6 separate regions of the Homo sapiens genome follow, and regions 2, 3, 4, 5 and 6 are each linked to region 1. The links are contacts of gene promoters, found by promoter capture Hi-C in blood cells and fetal thymus (Javierre and others, 2016). All regions are on one chromosome and are shown on one strand. The core of a region is centred on a gene start or on the middle of the fragment in contact, and the rest is flanking DNA. Distances in the headings are between cores, read along the strand shown.

Region 1 (3,883 bases), core at 720-3,219:
TGATGTTTCTACTTAGGACATTTCTTTTAGCCCCTGTGGTCTGGTGAACTCCCATTCCTCCCTCATGTCTCAGGTTCGACAACATTGCTTCATAGGAGCCTTCACAGATGCTCTCAAAACTGAACTGGATGATCTGCCTGTGCTCTCATTATCCCTCTGTGTGCTGGTCCCTCTGTCCATCCCTGTATCCTCATAAATCATATTGTGTCCACCATAATATTCCTCAGTCCCCAGCATGGTGCCCAGCACCTAGTTAGTGTTCATTCAGTATTGGCTGAATGAAAGAACATGATGCATGAAAGAACGAAATGCATGATGGAGGCATATAGATGAAAAATCTACTTGCAGAAGATGTTACAATGACATTTCTCTTTCAATGGACCCAGTTTTGGAGAGGGCTGCTTCCTATGGTTGGGACTGTCCAGCTCAATGGGACGGATGGCCTGTGCCTGTGTATTTCAGATGAACCAAACTAGAGTCAGAAACACGAGACAGGTGTGGTTCGAACATTTTTAGTGAGAGCTTGCGAAGGATGAACTTTATTCCGGAAGGGCTATTTAAATGCCATTGCTTCACATGCCCATAGTTTCTAAAATTCCAAAGTAACTTCCCATGGAGTCCGAATCAAATTGCCCTGATGTTTAGTACAACTCAAGAAAAACAGACTTGCTGGTAAGTAAATGCGCTTTGCTCTAAAGGAGTATGAATCTTAACACAAATTACAGTGAACACTTTTCTTAATTAGATAAGAACTTTAATTTGAAGCAAGTGCTCTGTGTCATATCTGAAATTTTCAATTAGGAGCAAAGTCTTCTGCTTTTATTCCATGAAACTGATAAAATACAGAGCTCCACCCTTTTTTTGATGACATAGGAGGAGGTTGTGATATGATTGTAATAAACATGAATTGGGGGCAATAGAACATTTTATTACTGTAGAAGTAGTTTCTGAACTGCTTGATGCTGATGGTCATGTTATTAAACAGGGCACTTAAAAATCCAGGCATCATTAAGACCCATATTCCTGCCACACTGTTTCCACCCAGAATCACTTTGCTATTTAAATCTGCAGTACAGTATTCTAATAGTCATATTATAACATTTACTTAAATAAAAGGAGAAAAGTCTTTGAATTTACTGGGGTTTCAAAACTTGATAAGGACTAGGTGAAAAACTAAGAGAGATTTATCACGTAATTAATTTTTAGCTCTTTTCAGAAAGATTGTTCACTATACATTTAGCCCTGATGTGATAAGCTGTGACAAAGATTCATTTTATTCCGGAGGATAAAATGTTCATATTTTGTATGTAATTGTGTTAAACATTAAAAATAGCATGATTTAAGGTCATCCTGTTGTACAGTCAGGTACTCCAGCACTAAAGGTAGATGAAAGAATTTTTATAGATGTAACATTTTAGCCTAATTTGCTTTACAAAGTCCATTTGGACCTACCTAACATAGATAACCTCTTGATTTATCTTGAAGCTAAACACAGAGTAGGAAACACAAGCATCATCTCTCACCTGACTTCGCAGCTCTTCAATTTGTCTGTAATATGCACTGTAGTCGCGACCAGCCCTCGGGGCGTTGGTTTCGTACCACTGCTTGATTTGCACTTCAAGTTTGGAGTTGGACTGCTCCAGGGTCCGCACCTTTTCTAGGTAGCTCGCTAGACGGTCATTTAGGTTCTGCATGGCCATTTTCTCATTGCCAACAAACAGGTCCCCGCCGCCTGTGAGATCGCTCCCATAGTTCACCGTGTGTCTGGAGTTGGAGATGCGGATGCCCCGGCCTCCAGCACCCCCATAAACGCTGGGTGTCGTCCCGAGGCGCTGCATGCCCACTGTACTGACTACAGGGGCCTGCAAGGAGGAGCTCAGGCTTCTGTGGAAGCTTCTGCGACTGAAATCCATTGGAGATTCCAGGAGGGAGCACCTGTAGCTTCAGGATGGTTGGGGCAGAGTGTGTCTCATGGAGGGTGTTGAGCTAGCCTTTTATGAAGTCCACAGGCAAGAAACTCCTCCTCTGCTGACATGTCACTAGGATTGGCACCACAGTCCACCTTGCCTTACTTCCACGCCCCCCGCTTTGTATAGCAATATGTTAATATGCTTAATTCAATTCCAGAAAATACCACTAGAGGCATTTCTTGGAGGCTTTTATCAGGGGCAACTTTTTTTTTTTTTTAATTAAACAGGTAATAAAAGGAAACAGGAAAGTGTATTCTTTTAGCCCATGCGCCTGCCTTGGCAGGTTTTTTTCATCCTAACATACACACAAAGAATATTTACAATCCTCATGTATAATTTAGGTATCTAAAAAGGCAGATGTGCCTACATAACTGAAAGTCACAATGGAGATAAAGGACAATGTTTGATTTGTATTGAGGAGTTGCTCTTCAGAACCTCTGTTTCATGCTTTGCTTGTGTTTGGCTTTTAAGTTTATTGTGTTTTGGACATCTTATTTTATAAGACTATTAAAATATTTTGTACAAACACAAAACCTCGAATCCCTAAACCAGGAATGAAACCATTGTACATTTGGAGATGTAGTTTGGGGATGTGAATTAAATGAATTTAGCTGAGTGATGGATTAGATGATTTGGGAGGTTATTTTCTTTCTATTTCTAATGTTCTATGACTAAATATTGCATTTTAGGTTTCCAGTCACCACCTGGCTTCAAGTCCTGTTACCAAGACACTTAGAATAAATCACACAGTGCTTTGTACCTGGCATGGTATCAGGATGGGTCTCCTCTTTTGTATGAGGCCAGCTTAACACCCACCATGAGACAGACTCTGCCCCATCCATCCTGAAGCTACTTACAGGTGCTCCTTCTAAAGTCCCCAGTGGATTTCAGTTGCAGAAGCTTCCATGGAAGCCTGATCTTCCTTGTATGCCCCCATAATCACAGCGAGAGTGGCTGTTTATATAGGAAGGGGTGCAGGCGGGGACTTGGGACTACACTCAGCTTCCAGGGTTGGGCTGGAGGCAGCTGCTTGTGTGTGGACCTCTAGACACATGGGCATGATCTCATCGGTGGGAATCTGATTGTAAGCAACCAATAAATGCCTGAGTCACTTGCTTCCCTTCATTCAAACCCCCTGGCTGAGAATTCACACTTCCCATGAAGCATGTAAATCACTTCCTTAGTTAATTAGATAATCACTAATTAATATAATTAGATAATCAGTTAATCACTTCCAAGTTAATTAGAAGGGATTGGAAAAGTCACTAAAAACATCTAATTAATTGTCATCCTGATACTTTAATGGAATTGAGATTTGTATATAATTAAGCAAGCAAGTAAATGCAAAAAAAATTGGAATTTAATTGTCTTATTTTAGTGGCTTATTTGTTGTTGCTGTTGTTCTGAAAGCCAGTCACTTAAAAAAAATTTTTTTTGAGTTTTTAGAAACCAGTGGCTTTTTTACTTTTGAGTTTAAATTTCTTTTACACACAACTTTCTTCTAAAATAAGGTCAGATCATATTATTTCTCTCTTATAAACAGTATACTTTAAAATAATACATTGTGTTTGATTTTATCTTAGTTATATCACAGAAATAAAAATTGAGATAAAATGGAATCTATTTTATGCATTTTATGGTATATGTGTGGGCAGCTCTTATATTTTTATCCATTCATGTATTCATCAGCCAATACTGAGTACTCACCACCAATGACTGGACTGGTAGCAAGAAGACCTTGCTAACTTATTAGAGTTATAAATTACTTTGTTAATAGATGTCACAGCTAAACTCTGTAGCAGAGAAGAACTTTTTATAAACACATGAACTATGTTCTTTATACATGTATTCAAAGATGAATTGTTTTTGGTGTTGATTAATGGGGTAGGAGGTTGTTAGATTAAAGTCATTGG
Region 2 (3,883 bases), core at 848-3,347, 660 kb after region 1:
CTATGTTGGTAAATGCATTGGGTTCTTTAGAAGGATACACAAGCAAGTGAGATAGCAGGGGATGCTTCTGGGAACGGAGCTGGGAGACTGAATTCAAAGAACGGAGAGACTAATGTTTTGCTGAATATCCTTTGTACTTTTAAAATTTTGTACTGAATTATATATCTATCACTTCTTCCCAAATATATATATATTTATACTGAATTTTGCATGTATTTCTTCTTCCAAAATGTATATATATATAATGCATGTACTACTTCTTCCCAAATATATTTATATATATATAATATATAATGCAGAATTATATATTATATATAATACATAATATATATAACATGTAATAATTATGTATTACACATTATATAATATATTACATGTAATAATTATGTATTACACATTATATAATATATATTACATATATTTGGAAAGAATACATGCATTATATATATATTTGGGAAGAAATAATACATGCATAATTCAGTACAAAATTATATATCTGTAAAAAAACAAAACCTAACTTGGGCATTCAGATCTGCCAAGAAGTTTGAGGTGGTGCTGGGACCCCAGGCCTGGGCCCTGCAGGAGCTCACAGCCTCAGCCTCTCTGGATCTACTGGCTGCCGATGGGCACTCTGAGCAGTTTCTTGCTTTTCCCAAAGCCATGCCCAGGAAACACCATTCATTCCCTCATTCACTCGTGTGCTGTGCGTGGGCTCTGAGCCAGGCCCTATGCCACATGCAGAATTCAGAGACGAAACAGACTCAGGCCCAGCCCCCAACAAGCTCCCAGCAGATGGGAGAGGGGAGAATGGGGGAGGGAAAGATCTACACAAATAGCTACAAAAGAGAGGCCCAGCAGTATAGCGTAGCAGGCAAGATTAATCAGTGACCATGTAGCAAGGCAGTGACAGGCCTGGCCTTTGAAAAGAGCCACGCCTTGGGGTGAGAGCCACTCATTAGCCAGGCCCAGGTATTCACCTCCCTAAGCTCCAGTTTCCTCCCCTATAAAACATGGACCATAATCACACCAGTGTGGCATGTGGTTTAGAGCCCAGGCCTTGGAGCCAGGGTGGCCTGGGTTTGATTCACAGAGCCACCATTTTATTTCAAAGCCATGTCATGCAACGGCCGTTACCTCACCTGTCAGAACCTCAGTGTCCCCGCCTCTGAAATGAGGCTAATAACACCAACCTCAGAGGGCTTGTGGGGGAATAAATGAAAAATCAGGTGTGAAGCACAGTATCTGGCACTCCATAAAATCAAGAGCTATTACCAGCAACATGAAGGTTAAATGGCATGTGTCAGTCATCACCGCAGGGGACAACCACTCAGCAGGTGTGGGCTGGGAGGAGCTTTCTGTTCTGTTTTTTGGGTTTTTTGTTTGTTGAGATGGGGTCTTGCTCTGTCACCCAGGGTAGAGTGCAGTGGCGCAATCCTAGCTCATTGCAGCCTCAAACTCCTGGGCTCAAGTGATCCTCCTGCCTCAGCCTCCTCAGTAGCTAGGGCTACAAACATGCACTACCATGCCTGGGCCAATTTTTTTTTTAAGAGACCTGTTCTTGCTATGTTGCCCAGGCTGGTCTTGAACTCCTGGGCTTAAGCAATCTGCCTGCCTCGGCCTCCCAAAGTGCTGAGGTTACAGGTATGAGCCACCATACCTGGCCAGGTATGGGTTTTTATAAAAGATTTTGTGAGAGGATAGGCACAGTGGCTCACACCTATAATCTCAGCACTTTGGGAGGTCGAGGCAGGTAGACTGCTTGAGTCCAAGAGTTCAAGATCAGCCTAGGTAACATCTCTACAAAAAATGATCAGGGCATGGTGGTATGTGCCTGTAGTTCCAGCTACTCGGGAGGCTGAGGTGGAAGGATTACCTGAGCCCAGGAGGTTGAGGCTGCAGTGAGCCATGATCACACCACTGCACTCCAGCCTGGGTGACAGAGTGAGACCTTGTCTCAAAAAAAAAAAAAAAGATTTTTGTGGGAGTCGCTCACTGCTCCCTGTGCGGTGGGGTGGAGGGAAGGGGAAAGTGTTCTTCCAAAAAGCTGAGATTTGAAGAATGAGGAGTGGGAAGAAAAGGGCTCGGGTGGTGGGTGTTTCTGGCACAGGGAAAGCTGTGGGAAATGGCCTGGCCAGGTGAGACAATGCGGGGAGTTCAGGGAGGGAGCAGTTCAGTGTGTTGGAGGCGTAACACTGGGAGAGTTGGAGGCCTGGAGGCTGGGGAAGGCAGGGGAGGGGACAAGTGCTGCCTGCGGGCCTGTTGGCAGTGGGGGTGTGGGTGGATAAGAGACGGGCCAATGGAGGGCCTCACGGAGGGGACAACTGCGAGGGTCCGACTCACCATGCAGGTCCTGAATAAAGCCGTGCTGGGCCTGGAGAAGTGTGGGTCGGGGAGGGATGGACACTGAACAGCAAGGCTCACCTCACATCCAGGAGGCCCCCCGCCAGCCCCGCCATGCCACAGGCACTGACGGTTGCCACTAAGCCTCAGAGGCCAACTGCATTTATTTGGAAATGGAGCAAGGCACTGGCCATGTCCAGGCTGGCTTTCCAGCCCTGTCCCCCAAAATCACAGTCTTCCTGCAATTACTCACAGGTGCTGGCCAATAGTGCTTAGGTTCTCAAATGCCTGCTTCTACTCAGGCTATCCTATCCACCTGCAGGGTCCTTCCCCTCAGCCGTCACAGGTTGAAACTGTGCCTCTTCACCATTGCCTGGAGTAGACAGAATAATGGCCCTCCAAAGATACGCCAATCGGAACCTGTGAGCATGTACCTTCCATGGCAGAAAGAGACTTTGCAGATGTGATTACATTAAGGATCTTGGAATGGGGGTTGGGTTATCCTGGATTATCCGATTGAGTCCAAAGTAATCACAAGGGTCCTTGTAAGAGAGAGGCGAGATGGTCAAGGTCACAGAGAGGAGCTGGGACCATGGAAGCAGAGGTCAAAGTGAGGCACTTTGAAGGAGGAAGATCCCACAAGCCAAGGAAGGCAGGCAGCCCCTGGAGGCTGGAAGAGGCCAGGAGACAGACTCTCCCGTAGAGCCCCTAGAAAAAAAGCATTTCTGATGACACCTTGATTTTAGCCCATAAGGCCCATTTCAGATTTCTGACTTCCAGGCCTAGAAGATAGTAAGTTTGTGTTGTTTTAAGCCACTGAGTTTGCCACCACTTGTTACAGCAGCAACGTGGAACTCATACATCACCTCTTCCTTCAGGCCTTTGTGATCCCTGGCACTCGCTCTTCCTCCTCTGAGCCCCTCTGGTGCTTTACCTGACCCTCTCCCAGGCACTGTCCTCTTCCTATATGGGTGAGAATTCATTGGCTCTTATCCCCTCTACCAGCCAGTGAGCTCCTTGAGGCTGGGGTCTGGCTCATATTTGTGCCCCCTTGCCCAACCACTGGTTGGGCTGATAATTCTCCCTGGATCCTTAGATCTACTCTCCACCTTCCTCTGTCCTGCTCTGTACCTGGAAGGATGATCCCTGTGTCACTGGCTCCCTTCCCTCCAACTGCCCCATTGGAATCAGCCATCCATCAGTAGGCAGCAGCGGAAGATGGAGAACAGGAAGAAAGGGGCCTGTGTATCTATCCCCCCACCTCTCCTTGCCCAGCCACGGTTCTGGCTGCAGCTGCTCGCTCTAAGGCTCCTGCAGGGCAGCCCTCCCCTGGCCACACCCCCTCAAACTCCCTTTTCCCATCCCTCCGCTTCCCACTGCTCTGCTCTGGGCTGTCTGATCCCTGCTGCTCCTGTCCACACCTCCAGAAATAGTTCCCTTTCTACACTCGGTCAACCCTGAGAGTCCGTCATATTCTGTGGGGCCCCTGGTGGATGCAGATGTGGCTGATCATCTACGTGGACAGCCAGGTGCAACACGCCTG
Region 3 (3,883 bases), core at 769-3,268, 590 kb after region 1:
TGATCCTGAGGCGACCACCCCTTTCCGGTGCCTAAGCCTCACCAAAATTAGCCAAGGGGTTCCAAAAAGACCAACACGGAGGTGACGCCAGATGCCAGGAGCAAGGTGGGGCTGGGAGCAACCAAAGGCCCAGGCCCTCTTTGCAGGGGGCTAGAAAGGAGAGGATTCTGTGTTCAAATCAGAGGGAACTATAGCAGATGTCCTTAAGGGACAAGGGTCTCTGGCTTGCCTTAGTCAGCATCTTCCAGCCACCTGCTCTCCCTTTGGACGTGGCTACAGCTCTCTTAACATCACTGAAGCTCCTTAGCAGGTGCTCTCAGCATCTTATGAGGAGCACATGCCAACTGGGAACGCACATCCTCGTTTTTTGCTCAGAAACTTTGGTCTTGGCCCTTCTCCCTTTCCCACTGGGATTAAGGGAACTTGCTATTTGCCTTGCCTGTTTGGGGAGGACATTCTGGACACAGATGAGAGCCTTTGGGTCAAGCTGCTGGGAGCTCTCACACCCATCTGAGGAGGGCTCGTTGTACACCTCACCAGATGCCAAGAGCACAGGAGCACATGCACAAGCCTCCTAAGGACAAGAGCCTTAGCATTCGGGATAGAAGCCCTGAAGGCGAGCACACTCTCCATCTCCTGCTTATGATGGGCTGTGGATTGTTAAGGGGGTTGCTGAACTTGGAGGGCTGCATGAAAGGGCTGCAATGGTAGGGGGCTTATGTAAATGCACCCCTAAAAGTACCCTGGGAGGGAGACACCCTATCGCCGGTCTTACAAGGACCACAGACAAGAGGCTGATAAAGTGGCCTAAAACCCTCCCTGTTATGCTGATCTCAGTTTCCATCTCAGTTTTGTCCCTCCCACTCTGGGATCCCCAGGTGACCACGTATACTAAGAGGGATTCCACAGCAGTCTGAAAACACCTGGCACCACACTGGAATCTTGGAGAAAGGTCTTCATCAGGGAAGCCAAGCAAAAGCTCTCACTGTAGGCCTCTACCCACCCCAAACAGGGGCATAGTGACCCTGTCATCCAAAGGGTCATACTTGGTCACACATCTCCCATTCGGCTGCCCAACAGTCACCCCCTGGACACAGCAGAGACACAAGCCAACAACACCAGAATGGTGCAAGTTAGGCATCAGGGGCCTGAGCAAATGCACTTTATTGTTCTGCCAACAAAAGCCCTCTACTGCATTTCAGAATCCACCGGAACAGCACCTAGAAGGAAAACCTGACCCAGGAGGCAGCCTGAGAACAGAGACCCTGGCACCCATTGAAATGATGAGGAGTTGAGACCTTTGGGGGCAGCCGGCCTTTGTGACAGGCTCTGAGAAACTTTAGGGCATGTATTTGCAGAAAGCCTTTTCAGCCAGACCCTGGGCCTGGGCTCTGCGCGAAGAGAGGGGATTGGGCTACAAGGGTTAAGTTTGGGTAGAGGCCAAGTTCAAGCCCTGGAGACAATAGCCATGGCCATCTGGGTCACCCGCTCTCAGAACCGACCCCCTGGGCAGGGCACACAAATGGGGCGGGGGCTGCAGTTTGTGCGGGCTGCACTAGGACCGCAGGAGGCCGCAGGAAGACAGGGAAGGCATGACTTGGAGGGTGAGTAGTCAGGTGCACATGGGTTACAGGGGAGCCTAGAAAAAAGAAAACAAATTACTGTGATTTTCCAGTTGCTGTTTGCAGTAACTCAAAGTAGATCCTAGACTATGCAAACTGGGAAGCACCCTAAAAACCACCTTGATCCTGCCCCCTTGTTTTACCAAAAGGGAAACAGGCCCTGAGAGGAAAGGGGGCTTGCTGGAGTCACGTGATGAGTTTTCAGGAAGACCAGAACTAAGAGAACAGAACTCCAGACTCCGAATGCCAGGCTCTTTCTAGGCACCATGCTGTCTTCCCAGAACTTGGTAGATTGCAGTGAGAAGACAAGAGCACATGCAGTGATACTCACTTGCTGTCCTCACTCTCCAGCAGGCCCCGGTACGTGTTGATCTCACACTCCAGCCGGGCCCGGACGTCCAGCAGCACCTGGTACTCCTGGTTCTGCCGCTCCAGGTCAGCCCGGATCTCGGCCAGCTGGGCCTCCACGTTGGTGATCATGCACTGCATCTGGGCCAGCTGGGAGCTATAGCGGGCCTCCGTCTCTGCCAGGGTGGATTCCAAAGCATCTCTCTGTGAGGGCAAGAGTTGTGTAGGGAGGAAAAAGGCTAGAGGTCAGAGAAGGAGCAAGGAAGGAATCTTCCTTGGAGCTATAGCGGGCCTCCGTCTCTGCCAGGGTGGATTCCAAAGCATCTCTCTGTGAGGTCAAGAGTTGTGTAGGGAGGAAAAAGGCTAGAGGTCAGAGAAGGAGCAAGGAAGGAATCTGGGTCTCAGTGAGGCCTCAGAATCCAAGAACAGAAGCTCGGAGAATCAGAGTTTGAGCTAGGATGAACCACAATCAGACATCTCACTTGAGATGAGCTAATTAGCCCCTGTGGCTTCTTTGATCTAGAAAGTATCTCCCTGTTAGTGTCATCTCTGAGTAACTGATAGTTACTCAGAAGATGTATCTGCTTGCACAAATATAGGACCTACTGCCTGGACATGTCAGTTGCTACAGGTCTCTTGTCCTTTACCACTGGGGGATTTGTGACTGGAGCTGGTCCCTCATTCCCTCTTTTCTGCATAGAGAACCCCTGGTGCTCAAGAACATGGACCCCTGGAGTCCGCCTGTGTGGTCAAAGCATGGAAGCTGGGGAGCTTGTGTGCTCCTCGGCTTGGTCCAGAGGCAGCTCCACCCTGCCTTGGGGCTCACCATGCTGTGCTGAGCCTGCAGCTCAATCTCCAGGGCGTTGACCGTGCGTCTCAGCTCGATGATCTCTGCCTGGCAGGACTGCAACTGCTCTGAGCTGGACACCACCTGCTGGTTCAGCTCCTCACTCTGAAACATACACACACAGAACCTGGTCAGCCACACCAGGGACTTGGCTTCAGAGAGCTACAGAGGCCGGTTAGAATCATGAGCCAAGAAAGACATTCCCGATTCCCCAGTCCCACTCATTTATTTTATACTGGAGGGCATTGTTGCTCAGAGGACAGCAACCTGCCCAAGTGGGTCTGTTTTGACCTTGTCAGCAAGGTCAATTGAAGTGGGTCTGTTTTGACCTTGTCAGCAAGGTCAAAACAGAGATGGGACTCAAAGTTAGATTTCTTGATTCAGAGCCCCAGGGTCACTTCCATGTGAGCCACCACATACCCCTGTTGCACTGACTGTTTCCAGGTACCTACCTGGGTGTCCAACCAGTCTTCAGCATCCCGGCGGTTATTCTCCACCAGGGTTTCATACTGGCACCTCATCTCCTCCAGAACTCGGTTCAGGTCAACAGGTGGGGCAGCGTCCACCTCAACATTGAGGCGGTCACCAAGTTGGCAGCGCAGTGAGTTCACTTCCTATAGCACAGACCAGGATGAGTACTAATTCCCAGAGGGCTGCCTCCAAGGTTCACCTCCTCCTCATGTTCACCTCCTCCCCATGCTCACCCCTCCTAATGCTCACCTCCTCCCCATGCTCATCTGCTCCCCATGCCCACCTCCTCCCCATGCTCACCTCCTCTGCATGCTCACCTGCTCTCTATGCTCACCTGCTCCCCATGCTCACCTCCTCTTCCCTATGCACACCTGCTCCCTCATGTTCACCTCCCCCTATGCTCACCTCATCCCCAATGCTCACCTCCTCCCCATGTTCACCTCCTCCCCCATGCTCACCTGCTGTGCCGTGTTCACCTTTTCCCCCATGCTCACCTCCTCATGGTTCTTCTTCAGGCAGAGCAGCTCCTCCTTCAGGGACTCCACCTGGGCCTCCAGGTCAGACTTGCACAGGGTCAGGTCATCCAGGATCCTGC
Region 4 (3,883 bases), core at 377-2,876, 570 kb after region 1:
GCCAGGTGCTCAGGTGTGAGTGTTTCCTCACCCAGAGCTTTTATTCACCTGCCATAGGAGCAGATGTGATACACAAGCTTTCCCCCAATGAATCCTCATTTGTTCTGCCATCAGAACAACCCATCAGCAGTTATTCAGTCCTCAGAAGTAGCTCCCCACTTTATGAAAGAAAGGGCTGACTTTGGACTTCTTGTTACTGCCTTCTGTTGTGAAAAGAAATGTTAAATGTTTTCTCTTTAGAGATGCCCCATTGAAAAGTTAGACTTTGTTCCTTGAGTGACTATCTGGCCTCTCTCTAGGAATGGCATTGGCTCTAAGATGAATCGTCCTCTCCACTGACCTTCAATACCCAAAAAAGTAAAATTCTCTGATAAGAGCCTCAGGAATCCCTAAAGAGCAATAGAGCAAAGACTGCTAAGTTATTAGAACTAAAGAAAACTTCCAAGTACTAATTCAACCTTTCGTGCTTCAGAGACCAGAGAAGGACAGTGAGCTCCCCAGGGATGCCAAGCAAGTCAGATACAGAGCCAGGACTGGTCCCAGGGCCCCTAGCACATTCTGTTTCCTCTGCACCAAGATGGACAAGCTTTTTCTGTTAAAAAGACAGATGCTAAATATTTTAGGCTTTGCAAGTCGTATACTCTCTTTGTACTGCAACTACTTAGCTCTGCCATTGTAGCACAAAGCAGACATAGACAACAGGGAAATGAATGGGTGTGGCTATGCTCCAATAAAACTTGATTTACCAAAACAAGTAGCAGTGGGGTTTGACCTGTGAGCTGTAGTTGCCATCCCTGCTTCACACAGCACAGTGAATGAGGCTTAAAAATTGGACCCCTTAAGCATGTGGGAGACCTTCAGTCCGCTCTGGAGCCAGAGGGCTGGGCAGAGGGAGGGCACCTGGGAATGGATGGTGAACTCCAGGACTGGACGCTGAGCCTCAGACACCAGGGCCTTCACTCTACCAGGGCATTTACACCAAGACTGGAAGTTCATCCAATGCTCTTAGAGCAAAGCAAAGCTACCCATATGTTGTTGTTGCTGCTGCTGCTGCTGCTGTTGTTGTTTCTGAAACTTGGGCTTCAGAATGGCTCCAAAATATGACTCAGCTGCCATTGTAATTGGGGAAAGTCAGAAGAGAAGAGAAATTTGTTGCCAAAGCATGTTTTCTTTACTCAACATTCATCAGGCACCTACAATATGCCAGGCATCATGACAGGCATTTTTATATGTACTATATCCCAACAACTCTGTGAAAAAGGTAGAATTACTCCCATTTCTAAAGGGGAGAAGACTGAGATGCATAGAGATTAAGAGTTCTGCCAAAATCACACAGCACATTAGCAGCAGAACTGGGGGTCTAGCCCAGTTTTTCTGAAGCCAAAGGCACTGATCTTCTCCATTAATCCTAGATGCTCATTGGTGACTTTGTTTACATATTATGATTAAGGGACACTGCTATTTAAATACAAATTTGTCTTGATCAGTTGGGCAAAAAGATAGACATCAAATGATCTTAGGAACTTTCTGTTTAGCCGAATTGATATCATTGCATTCAAGTGTTACATTTTATGAAATACAGGCCGGGTGCAGTGGCTCACGCCTGTAATCCCAGCAGTTTGGAAGGCCAAGGTGGGTGAATCACCTGAGGTCAAGAGTTCGAGACCAGCCTGGCCAACATGGTGAAACCCCATTTCTACTAAAAATACAAAAATTAGCCAGGCATGGTGGCATGTGCCTGTGGTCCTAGCTACTCAGGAGGCTGAGGCACAAGAATCACTTGAACCCAGGAGGCAGAGGTTGCAGTGAGCCAAGATCATGCCACTGCACTCCAGCCTGGGCTACGGGGCGAGACTCTCTCTCCAAAAGAAAAAAAAATTATGAAATACAAAAAGAATATTGTTTTATTATTAATGATTTTCCTGGTTATACCCTGGAAGAGGCATATTCTTTTTTTGATCACTCTCTAAAAGGTTTCCTAATATAGTGGTGAAGAAAGATTCAGTCAGTGCAATTCAGAGTCCACACACAGCCCCAACTCCCAGATGCCAAACCCAACTCCTGGATCTTTCGGGAAGCTGTCGCCCTCTGGCCAGTCTTCCTTGAATGGCAGTTCTGCCCATGGGCCCTCACTCTCACCCCCAGAAGAGGGTGCTTTGCACTAGGGCAGTGAGCAGCAGGGGTGAGGCCCAAACTCTTGAATAGCCTTGGGGAAAGTGGTGTCTTTAAAAAGCACACCCTTTTCTTTTCCAATCCCGCTCAGAGAGGATCCCTGATACCTGTGAGGGTTTCTCCAAAACATCAAATATGACAGAGGTTTTATGACTTGACCAGGGTCCTGCCTACATTTCCCTATAAACTCTTCCCCTATAAAGAGTTAATTAGATGCAAATGCTTTGATATGAGGAGAGAGTTCCTCTGAGAATCTCCATGAGTGGTACACTGAGTCCAGTTCCCAGGAGATTCCGGTGCTGGTGGGGGATAAATATCTCCCAAAGTCTATGCCCACGGCTTCTTCATCCATCAAATAAGAGACAGGCTAGGCAGGAGGGTAGCTCGTGACACCTCTGGCTTGAAGTACCATCCAGACACAGAAGATGATGGGCCTCACTTCTAGCAGAGGAGGGTACTCCTGGCCCTGGGCTGTGGGGCTTGGTTTCATATAAAAAGCTTTAACAGTCATCTTGGGAGTCAGACAGGTCTTGGCAAGTGGGAGAGACACACAGGTGTGGGAATGGGGACCGAGTTGGACTGAAACAATATGCACTGGGGAAACGGAGACTCTGGAAGTCCCCAGGGGGTCCAGGGTCCAGGACTTCTGGCCCACAACTCCTGTGCAATCATTCCTGCTGAGGCTCTGGGCTGCAGCTCAAGGTCTTTGCTCTTACTGAGCCCAGTGCTCAAAGAAAGAGGAGATGCTGAGTCTGGTAGTTGCTAGCGATGCTTTTTAAGAGAACTATATTCCCAGGAAGAAGTTTCAGCTTCTCAGAGAAAATGTCTCCCTTCTTTGGGAAATGAAAGAAAAGGAGAGGGGAAATATGTATTAGCCTGAAATAATAATAAACCTAGGGTGCTTGGAGAAAGCATAAAGTGCTTGGAGAGACCTAAGAGGCTTGGCGTCAAAACCCTTGGCTTCAATTTCCACCTGTTGGTTGTGTCTGTGAGCACATCTGTCCACCTCCCTGGGTCTGAGATGACTCTTCTGTAAAACTGGGAAAGCTGAGCCAGATCATCTGGAAGGCTCCTTCTAGTTCTGACAGTCTAAGACAGCTCTGTCCAGTAGAACTTTCTGCAGTGTTGGAAATAGTCCATGTCTGTGTTGTCTTATTTACTACCACTTAGCCACGTGTGACGAGTGCAACTCAGTGCAATTCAGTATATGAAACATTCATATACCGAATGTTTCAGTATATGCAGCCACATGTCGTTATGAACTACCATATTGGACAGAACAGGTCTAGGATTATAGAACCAAAGCTTTGGTCTGTTCTGTGTGTTGTTTATCAAGCTGAGCACATTCCAGAAAAGTTTTGCACCGGGGTTGAAATTAAAGATTGCTGGTTTGCACGCAGTTATGAGAAAATTCAATTAGCCAGAACCCCTCTCTCTTGGCATTTCAGCTCCTTGAAATTTTACCCATCCATCAACCAGGAACCACAGCTTGCTAAGCAGTATGTTCATGTCCCTGCTGTCAGGCTAATGACCTTGTCTGCCAGGGATGCCTGCAGGATCATGTCTGGAGAGCAGCCTGCAGGCAGCTTCAGGATCCAATCCATTTTTCATCATTTCTTGGCAAGGCCAGAGGGAGGATACTTAATAGAAACATCATCTCAGCTCATTAAGGAAGAACTGTGTGTTTGGAGGGTGAGGTTCAGAAAGGTGT
Region 5 (3,883 bases), core at 747-3,246, 540 kb after region 1:
TAGTTTACGTTCCCACCAGCCATGTAGAAGTGTCCCCTGATCACCACATCCACTCCAACATCTATTGTTTTTTTATTTTTTTGATTATGGCCATTCTTGCAGGAGCAAGGTCGTATCGCATTGTGATTTCGATTTGCATTTCCCTGATCATTAGTGATGTTGAGCATTTTTTTAAAGTTTATATATGTATCTTTTGAAGTATTGAAAGGAAACTAGTACTTTATATTCTTTATCATATCATGTTTTATAATTGTTGAATATGTTCCTGTTTATTTTTCTCTGTCCTGTTGTGTAGCCTTAAGAAGTGTTTCAAAAAAAAAACCAAACATATCTGAATGTATAAAATAAGAGTAAATGCCCTACAAGTTATGATGCCACATTATACATAAAACTGTGTGCATATATTTTTAAACAGCATAAATACATCTTTGCTCTGAGAAAAAGTTGAACATGCATCCCCGTGAAAACCACAAGGGAGTCAGGGGATGATGGTGTTGATGAAACCTGGGCTCTTGGAATTCTCTCAAGGAGAAATAAGGGGTCTGGAATTCTTCCCAAGAGGAAAACCCACTGTGGGTCAGCTGTGGCTCCAGCGGCCCTGAGGTCAGCTATGACTCATTCTTTACTGGGGCAATCCTTAGAGGGCCTCTCCCTGCCAGGCCATCCCTCAGAGGCCTCTGGGTGCAATCTGCATTTTCCATCTTCAAAGACCCCTTTGTTCCTATCTTCCGCCTCAACACATAGCATCACTATAATCCAGAGAATTGAAGCATTAAAATTCTTCCCTTTGATTTGCTAAATAGGAACCCTCTCTTGACCCTATCCTCTGGCAGGATTTTATCCCATTGGCTAAAATCATGGTTCCTTCTGTCTCAGAACATATGACACTTGTTAATTCTTAAGCATCACAGCTGAAGCTTTGCATCCTTTGCGTCCTGACACACCTCTCCAAAGCTTGATATGTGTCTCTGGCTTGGGCTCTGCATGGTCCATTTTGCATAATGACATAGACACTGCCTAGTCCTTCGTACAGCAGAGGGCTCTTCTGATTTTCTTTGGTCTCAAAGGAACAGGCAGTAGGTGGAAGGCATGAGGCAGGTGTCTGGGATGTACTCAGCTGTGTAGGTGGGAAGGAGCCCATCCTTGACATTGCAGATGATCAGATGAGCCTCCTCTTCCTCCCTTTTTTTTTTTTTTTTGAGACAGAGTCTCGCCCTATTACCCAGGCTGCAGTGCAATGCAATGCAATGGCATGATCTCGGCTCACTACGACCTCCACCTCCCGGGTTCAAACGATTCTCCTGCCTCAGCCTCCTTAGTAGCTGGGATTACAGGCACCCGCCACCACACCCAGCTAATTTTTGTATTTTTAGTAGAGATGGGGTTTCACCATGTTGGCCAGACTGGTCTTGAACTCCTGACCTCGTGATCCACCCACCTCAGCCTCCCAAAGTGCTGGGATTACAGGCATGAGCCACCGTGCCCGGCCCTCTTGCTCCTCTTTAAAAAGAGTTTCTGGCCCCTGAAAATAAACATATATTCCAAGTTGCATGAAGGGAGGTATCAGAGATGAAGAGAGAAGACAGAGGTAGTCCTGCAGCCCTCCTTCCTTCACAGGGGCCACCTCTTCTCTCTTGAGGATTAAAAGATTTTGAGCTGTAATCTCTCTTCAGGCAGAGGGGAAACACTGGGTTCAGAACAGCATCACTTGGTGCCACGGTGCAGACGCATCTCTGAGTCTGACCGTTCTGACGCATCTCTGAGTGAGACAGAAGCAGAGGCACTGGGCGGTCCACAGGGTGTGAGTCTAATCTGCAACCACCTGCTCCAGCTGCAGAGGAAAAATTCTGAAGACACCTAAGGAAACAGGAGCTGCCCACACACTGCATCCTGATGTGAATTACGCCAGGAAAACATCTGCAAACCACGACCAGCAGTGTGTCCTGATACCACTGTGCCTGCAAGGCTCTCAGACATGCTGGGTGAAAACAGAGTCTGAGGAAGGATAACCCAAAACACCTTTATCATTTCAAAAGTCCACCTCAGAAGGCTTTGAAAAAAAAAAAAAAGTCACCGTTTTCTTTTCTATTAAATAGGATTTTAAAATCTAGTTACTTGGGAAACTTTGGTTTGATTTTAAGTATTTTTAAATTATTATTCTGCTTTATTCTTTTTTTGTTTTTCTTTTCTTTTTAGATGGAGTTTTGCTCTTGTTGCCCAAGCTGGAGAGCAGTGGTCTGATCTTGGCTCACTGCAACCTCCGTCTCCTGGATTCAAGAGATTCTCCTGCCTCCGCCTCCTGAATAGCTGGGATTACAGGCGTACGCCACCACGTCCGGCTAATTTTTTGTATTTTTAGCAGAGATGGAGTTTCACCATGTTAGCCAGGCTGGTCTCCGACTCCTGACCTCAGGTGATCCACCCACCTCGGCCTCCCAAAGTGCTGGGATTACAGGAGTGAGCCACAGCGCCCTGCCTAGTTTGCTTTATTCTTATCCCAGGTCTTAAGGTCATCAGAGACTAAATACTGAAAAAGTTATCTTCATTTCCCCTCCCCTTTGTTCCCTGATCCTAGAGTTTCTTTATCTACATGCTAAGGCAGGAAATTTCCCCTTATTTACCTCATACCAAGACCTATTACAAAATCCTTTAATGCAGCATAGTAGAGGTTTAAGACAATGAATTTTGGATCCAGCCTGCCTGGGTTCAGATTCTGGTTCTATCATTTATTAGCTGTGTGAACTTGGGCTGGTGACTTGACCTCTCTGTGCCTCAAATTCTGCTTATGCACAATGGAGTGACAATAGCACCTAGCTAATGGATTTAAGTTTTAAAAAAATCCATACCTGTAAATCACGTAAAATAGTGTCTAGCACAGAGTACATGGTAAGCACTAAATAAGTGTTGTGTTTTTTAATGGATTTTACTGTTACTGGTGTGTTTACATGCTTACACCATTCATAATTCAAAAATGCTTATTAAATTACTTATTTTTTACTTATTTAAGTTAGCAAAGATCAGAAGTTTAGTCTTACTAAAAAGCTTTTGCACAGCAAAAGAAACAACAGAGTGAAAATACAACCTACTGAATGGGAGAAAGAATTGTAAATCATATATCTGATAAAGGGTTAGCCTCCAAAATATATAAGGAAGTCCTACAACTCAACTGTAAAAAATAATTTTTTTTAATTTAAAAATGGGCTAAGGATTTCTATAGACATTTCTCTAAAGTAGACGTACAAACGGCCATCAGGTATATGAAAAAATGCTCAAAGTCACTAGCCATAAGGGAAATGCAGATCAAAGCCATGAGACATCACTTCACACCACTCAGGATGGCTACTATCAAAAAAAAAAAAAGACAACTAGTATTGGTGAGGATATAGAGGAGCTGGAACCATTGCACGCTGTTGGGAAAATGCAAAATGACGCAGCCACTATGGAAAACAGTATGGAGATTCCTCAAAGAATTAAAAATAGAATTACCATATGAGCCAACAATCTCACTTCAGGGTATTTATCCAAAAGAATTGAAATTGGGATCTCAAAGAGATGTTAACACTCCTGTGGTCATTGCAGCAGGAGTCACAATAGCCAGAATGTGGAAACTACCTAAATGTCCGTTGACAGATAAATACAAAAAGAAATTGGTATGTGCAAACACTGGAATTCCATTCAGCCTTTAAAAAGGACGAAATTCTGCAATACGCAACGTGAATAAACCTCGAAGACGTTATGCTAAATAAAATAAGCCAATCACAGAAAGACAAATACTGCATGATTCTGCTTATATGAGGTATCTAAAATAGATTCAACCCTGAAGACATTATGCTAAATGAAATAAGCCGATCACAGAAAGACAAATACTGCATAATTCTGCTTA
Region 6 (3,883 bases), core at 993-3,492, 520 kb after region 1:
TACTTGCAGTCCTCACTCTCCAGAAGGTTCCGGTATGTGGCAATCTCATTCTGCAGCCGGGCCTTCACATCCAGCAGCACCTGGTACTCCTGGTTCTGCCGCTCCAGGTCAGCCCGGATCTCAGACAGCTGTTCCTCCACATTGTTGATGAGGCTCTGCATCTGGGCCAGCTCTGTGCGGTAGCGGTCCTCGGCTTCACACAGGGAGTTCTGTAGACAGTCCTTCTATAATATCAAAGAAAGGAGGAAGCAAGTTAAAAATCATGGATCTCCAACCTCTTAAGATTGTGACACCCCAAGACATTGCCAGGTCCAGAGAGCAATCTAACTCCCTTTAGCTGTCTTCAGCCAGAATAACTAACACACTTCATGGTAGACCTTTAAGATCAGAGCCCTCTGACCTAAGTTAATGTTGATTCACTCAGCATCCACATCTACAGGGAAGTGCTTCCAAAAGAGTTGAAACCAAGGTTTAAGCTGAGTCCGTGGTTGGTATTCGAGGCCTGTACTGACCCCAGAGAGCTACTCATGGGTAGTGGGAGCCAAGCTGGGTCTCCCATGCGTGCAGAGGGACTCACCAGTGTGTGCTGAGCCTGAAGCTCCACCTCCAGGGCGTTCACCGAGCGTCTCAACTCCAGGATCTCTGACTGGCAGCACTGCAGCTCCTCAGAGCAGGACATGGCCTGCAGGCTGATGCCTTCAGACTGGAGCATAGAGAAACATGGTCACCTACCTGCCCAGATGGAGGCCAATCCCCACTGCTTAGCAGTCCCCCTCACCTGGGCTTGGAACCACTGCTCCACATCCTGGCGATTGGTCTCCACCATGGCCTCGTACTGGCCTCACGTCTCCCCCAGAACTCTACTCAGGTCAATGGTGGGCTCAATGTCCAGCTCTATCCGGAGCTTGTCTCCCAGCTGACCCCTTAGAGTGTGGGCTTCCTGTAGGCATCAGAGGAGTATGACCCGCCTGCAGGGCCCCCAACTGCCCTTCACCCAAACTCTCAACTCCCACTTTCCATCCTCCCCAGTAATTTCCCTGTGCTCCTCTGAAGATAAACCGCTGCCTGCACCAGCCTAGCAGCTTCCAGAAGCTGTGGATGAGAAGCAATCTCCCACCAAAAGCCAGAGCTCACCTGCAAAGCTTCAATCCCAAGCAGAAGGAAGCCTCCGTTTTTTCCCCCCAGATGAGCCTGAATTCACCTCCAGAAAGTCTCAATGCATCACACCAAGGGTCACACACCTGCTCATGGTTCTTCTTGAGGCAAAGCAGCTCCTCCTTCAGGGACTCCAGCTGGGCCTCCAGGTCACACTTGGCGAGGGTGAGGTTGTCTAGCACCCTGCGCAGGCCACAGATGTCAGCCTCCACCAGCTGTTGCAGCGAGCGCTCTCTCTCGTACCTGTAACAGGGAAAGTGCAGGAGTGACAGTTAGAGGGCAGGAAGGGGCACCAGGACATGACTCCCAGCTCGCAGCTGTAAGTCCACTGGCCTGCCCTTTGCCATCTAATTGTGAGTTGGCTTATCCTGTGTAGTGTGCTCAAAGCCCAGAAAGCAACAGGATGTTCCCCACTCAGTCAATACTAAGCACCTGAGATGAACCAAGGGGAGCAGCTGGTACTGAGGATACTGTGATGGACACACAGCCAGCACCTGCCTTTACACACAATGGCCCAAAAGGGAGGTGGCAAAGTAACCAGGCATTTGCAACACAGTGCAATCACTGCAGGCCCCTCTCTACAAGCCCCATACCCAAAGGGACCCTGGATTCCCTATTAGAGTAAAAGCCACATTGCCAGCATGAGAGGAAGGAAATGGCTTTCTTTAGCTCTAGAAGAGTGAGACTTGCACAGTGCCCCGAAGAAAGATGATAAAACACAATGCCCTTCCAGCACCCAGGGTAGACCCTCCTCAGGTGGTGTCAACCCTTTGACTTTCACATGTTTTCATCTTAGGCTATGGAGCATGATTTCTGCTATGAATTATCAGCACTCACAAATTAATCAAGCTGCAGCACAGAAACATATCCTTATTAAGGCAACAGTTTCACAGGAAATTGCTTCAAGAAAGGAAAATTTGGTACAAAATTTAAGGCCAAGTCCCAGCTCTGCCACTCGGTACCCACATGGCTTCTGGCAAGTCACACCAGCACCCCAAGCCTCAGGGTCCCCACCTGTGGAGGAGATTCTATCCCTGCCCGCCTGCTTCACAAGTTGCTTACCAGGTGGATGATGCATTCTAGCACATGTTGTAAACTGTTAATGCTAAACCACTGGAGAGCGGATAGTTTTTCAGGATCTTGAGCTTAATGCCCTTTGTTCTCTTCTGCTATAACTACTGGGTTGGGGTCTGGGTCAATGACATCCGATGCCACATGAGACAGAAGCAGCCAACTTGGCATTGTCCCATCCCCATCCAACCCCAACTCTCACTTGGCTCCTTCCCATCCCTGTCCAACCCCAACTCACTTGGTCCTGAAGTCATCTGCAGCCAATTTGGCATTGTCTATTTGCACAACCAGCCTATTGTTCTCCGATTTGGTGCACAGAATCTGGGGTAAGAAAGTAGGCTCAGTAAGTGACTTACTGATCCCAGAGACACCTATAGCCTCAGGTGAGAGGAAGTTTTATTGGCTGAAGTTGAACCTACAGCATCCGCCTGGACAACACAAACTCCCAAACGTGCAAGAGATGCTTTTGTGGTGTGGGAAGGAAGATGTGCAAGAGACTTCTTGGAAAAGGATGAAGACATAGAGTCAAAGGAACCAGGAGATGGAAGACAGTAGCAAACTGAACATATAACAAAGACTTGCTTTCATTTTGCCAGATATGATGCTTAGCCCAATATAAATAAGAAGATCTGGCCGGACGCAGTGGCTCATGCCTGTAATCCCCGCACTTTGGGAGACCAAGGCAGATGGATCACCTGAGGTCAGGAGTTCAAGACCAGCCTGGGCAACATGGTGAAACACCATCTCTACTAAAAATATAAAAGTTAGCTAGGAGTGGTGGCGCACACTTGTAATCCCAGCTACTCAGGAAGCTGAGACATGAGAATCACTTGAACCTGGGAGGCAGAGTTTGCAGTGAGCTGAGATTGCACCACTGCACTCCAGCCTGGGTGACAGAGCGAGACTTTGTCTCAAAAAAAAAAAAAAAAAAACTAGGCCACAGAACAGAGGACTGGCTATGAATGTTTTAGATAAAGTAGGATCTGTTCTAAAGAAGATCTTTCCTCTGGTTGTCCAACCTCCCCACAGGTCTTCTCTGAATCTAGCCAGGTTTCTGTAACCCCTATTTTGACATTCCTTGTCTTCTTGTCTCCAAAACTAAGATGTAGGCTCTTCAGAAGCTTTAACTGGATAATCAAAGGTGACAATAGATATGCATAAGAGGTTGATGCTGTTGTGTGGATAGACACTGCCTTGGCAAGGATGTTAGGAAATATTCCTTTTGCCCTGTTTACTGCACCAGAAGTTTCAGTATACTGCAACTTTCATAAACTCAGCACGGTTTTTGCATGGTTTTCATGAAAATAGCATGATTTTTGTGACTACGATTTAGGAATTTTATGTGCTGAAGTTAAGTAAGCATGAACTCAGAATCCTAGAGTGATAAATTCTACATCTCATCCTTTACAAATTCCCATTCACCTTCACTCAAGAGATTCTCTTCCCACATTAAAAGAAAAAAAAAATCCACTGCTGACCCAGGGTCAGTAATCTTTTTTTGTAAAGGGTCAGATAGTAAATACTTTAGGCTTTGCAGACCCTACAGTCTCCATTACAATGACTGAACTCTGCCACTGTAGTACAAAAGCAGCTGCAGACAACATACAAATGCATGAGCATGGCCATGAACCAATAAAACTTTATTTGCAAAAGCAGG

The links. Contacts are between HindIII fragments. The CHiCAGO score rates a contact against its expected background, and 5 or more counts as called.
Region 2: a fragment that was not itself captured here is called in contact with the fragment with the promoter of KRT20 in region 1 in 17 of 17 cell types (M2 macrophages, naive B cells, naive CD4 T cells and 14 more); the score reaches 14.6 in M2 macrophages.
Region 3: a contact is called between a fragment that was not itself captured here and the fragment with the promoter of KRT20 in region 1, in 8 of 17 cell types (M0 macrophages, endothelial precursors, M2 macrophages and 5 more). The highest score is 10.6, in M0 macrophages.
Region 4: a fragment that was not itself captured here is called in contact with the fragment with the promoter of KRT20 in region 1 in 7 of 17 cell types (M0 macrophages, endothelial precursors, neutrophils and 4 more); the score reaches 8.8 in M0 macrophages.
Region 5: a contact is called between a fragment that was not itself captured here and the fragment with the promoter of KRT20 in region 1, in 12 of 17 cell types (M2 macrophages, M0 macrophages, neutrophils and 9 more). The highest score is 11.5, in M2 macrophages.
Region 6: a fragment that was not itself captured here is called in contact with the fragment with the promoter of KRT20 in region 1 in 3 of 17 cell types (M1 macrophages, M2 macrophages and M0 macrophages); the score reaches 6.8 in M1 macrophages.

What each region holds. Positions count from the first base shown.
Region 1 is chr17:40,883,273-40,887,155 of GRCh38, forward strand. It overlaps KRT20 (keratin 20), which reads right to left and starts at 1,970. Exons shown (of 8, transcript NM_019010.3): 1 at 1,524-1,970. The coding sequence starts at 1,913. All of the region lies in intron 1 of LOC105371777 (a long non-coding RNA gene), which reads left to right. The HindIII fragment of the contact is 977 bases long and covers 1,892-2,868 here.
Region 2 is chr17:41,543,819-41,547,701 of GRCh38, forward strand. No RefSeq gene overlaps it. Among named protein-coding and RNA genes, the nearest start is that of LINC00974, 8.7 kb to the right of the region's middle. The HindIII fragment of the contact is 7,630 bases long and covers 1-3,883 here.
Region 3 is chr17:41,475,565-41,479,447 of GRCh38, forward strand. KRT35 (keratin 35) reads right to left here. Exons shown (of 7, transcript NM_002280.6): 3 at 3,783-3,883; 4 at 3,270-3,431; 5 at 2,797-2,922; 6 at 1,954-2,174; 7 at 1,146-1,639. The coding sequence ends at 1,492. Among named protein-coding and RNA genes, the nearest start is that of KRT35, 3.6 kb to the right of the region's middle. The HindIII fragment of the contact is 6,798 bases long and covers 1-3,883 here.
Region 4 is chr17:41,454,312-41,458,194 of GRCh38, forward strand. No RefSeq gene overlaps it. Among named protein-coding and RNA genes, the nearest start is that of KRT32, 11 kb to the right of the region's middle. The HindIII fragment of the contact is 2,084 bases long and covers 585-2,668 here.
Region 5 is chr17:41,428,124-41,432,006 of GRCh38, forward strand. No RefSeq gene overlaps it. Among named protein-coding and RNA genes, the nearest start is that of KRT37, 5.5 kb to the left of the region's middle. The HindIII fragment of the contact is 2,088 bases long and covers 953-3,040 here.
Region 6 is chr17:41,407,392-41,411,274 of GRCh38, forward strand. LOC100505782 (a long non-coding RNA gene) reads left to right here. Exons shown (of 3, transcript NR_040111.1): 2 at 1,030-2,926. It also overlaps the pseudogene KRT41P. Among named protein-coding and RNA genes, the nearest start is that of KRT31, 12 kb to the left of the region's middle. The HindIII fragment of the contact is 2,205 bases long and covers 1,141-3,345 here.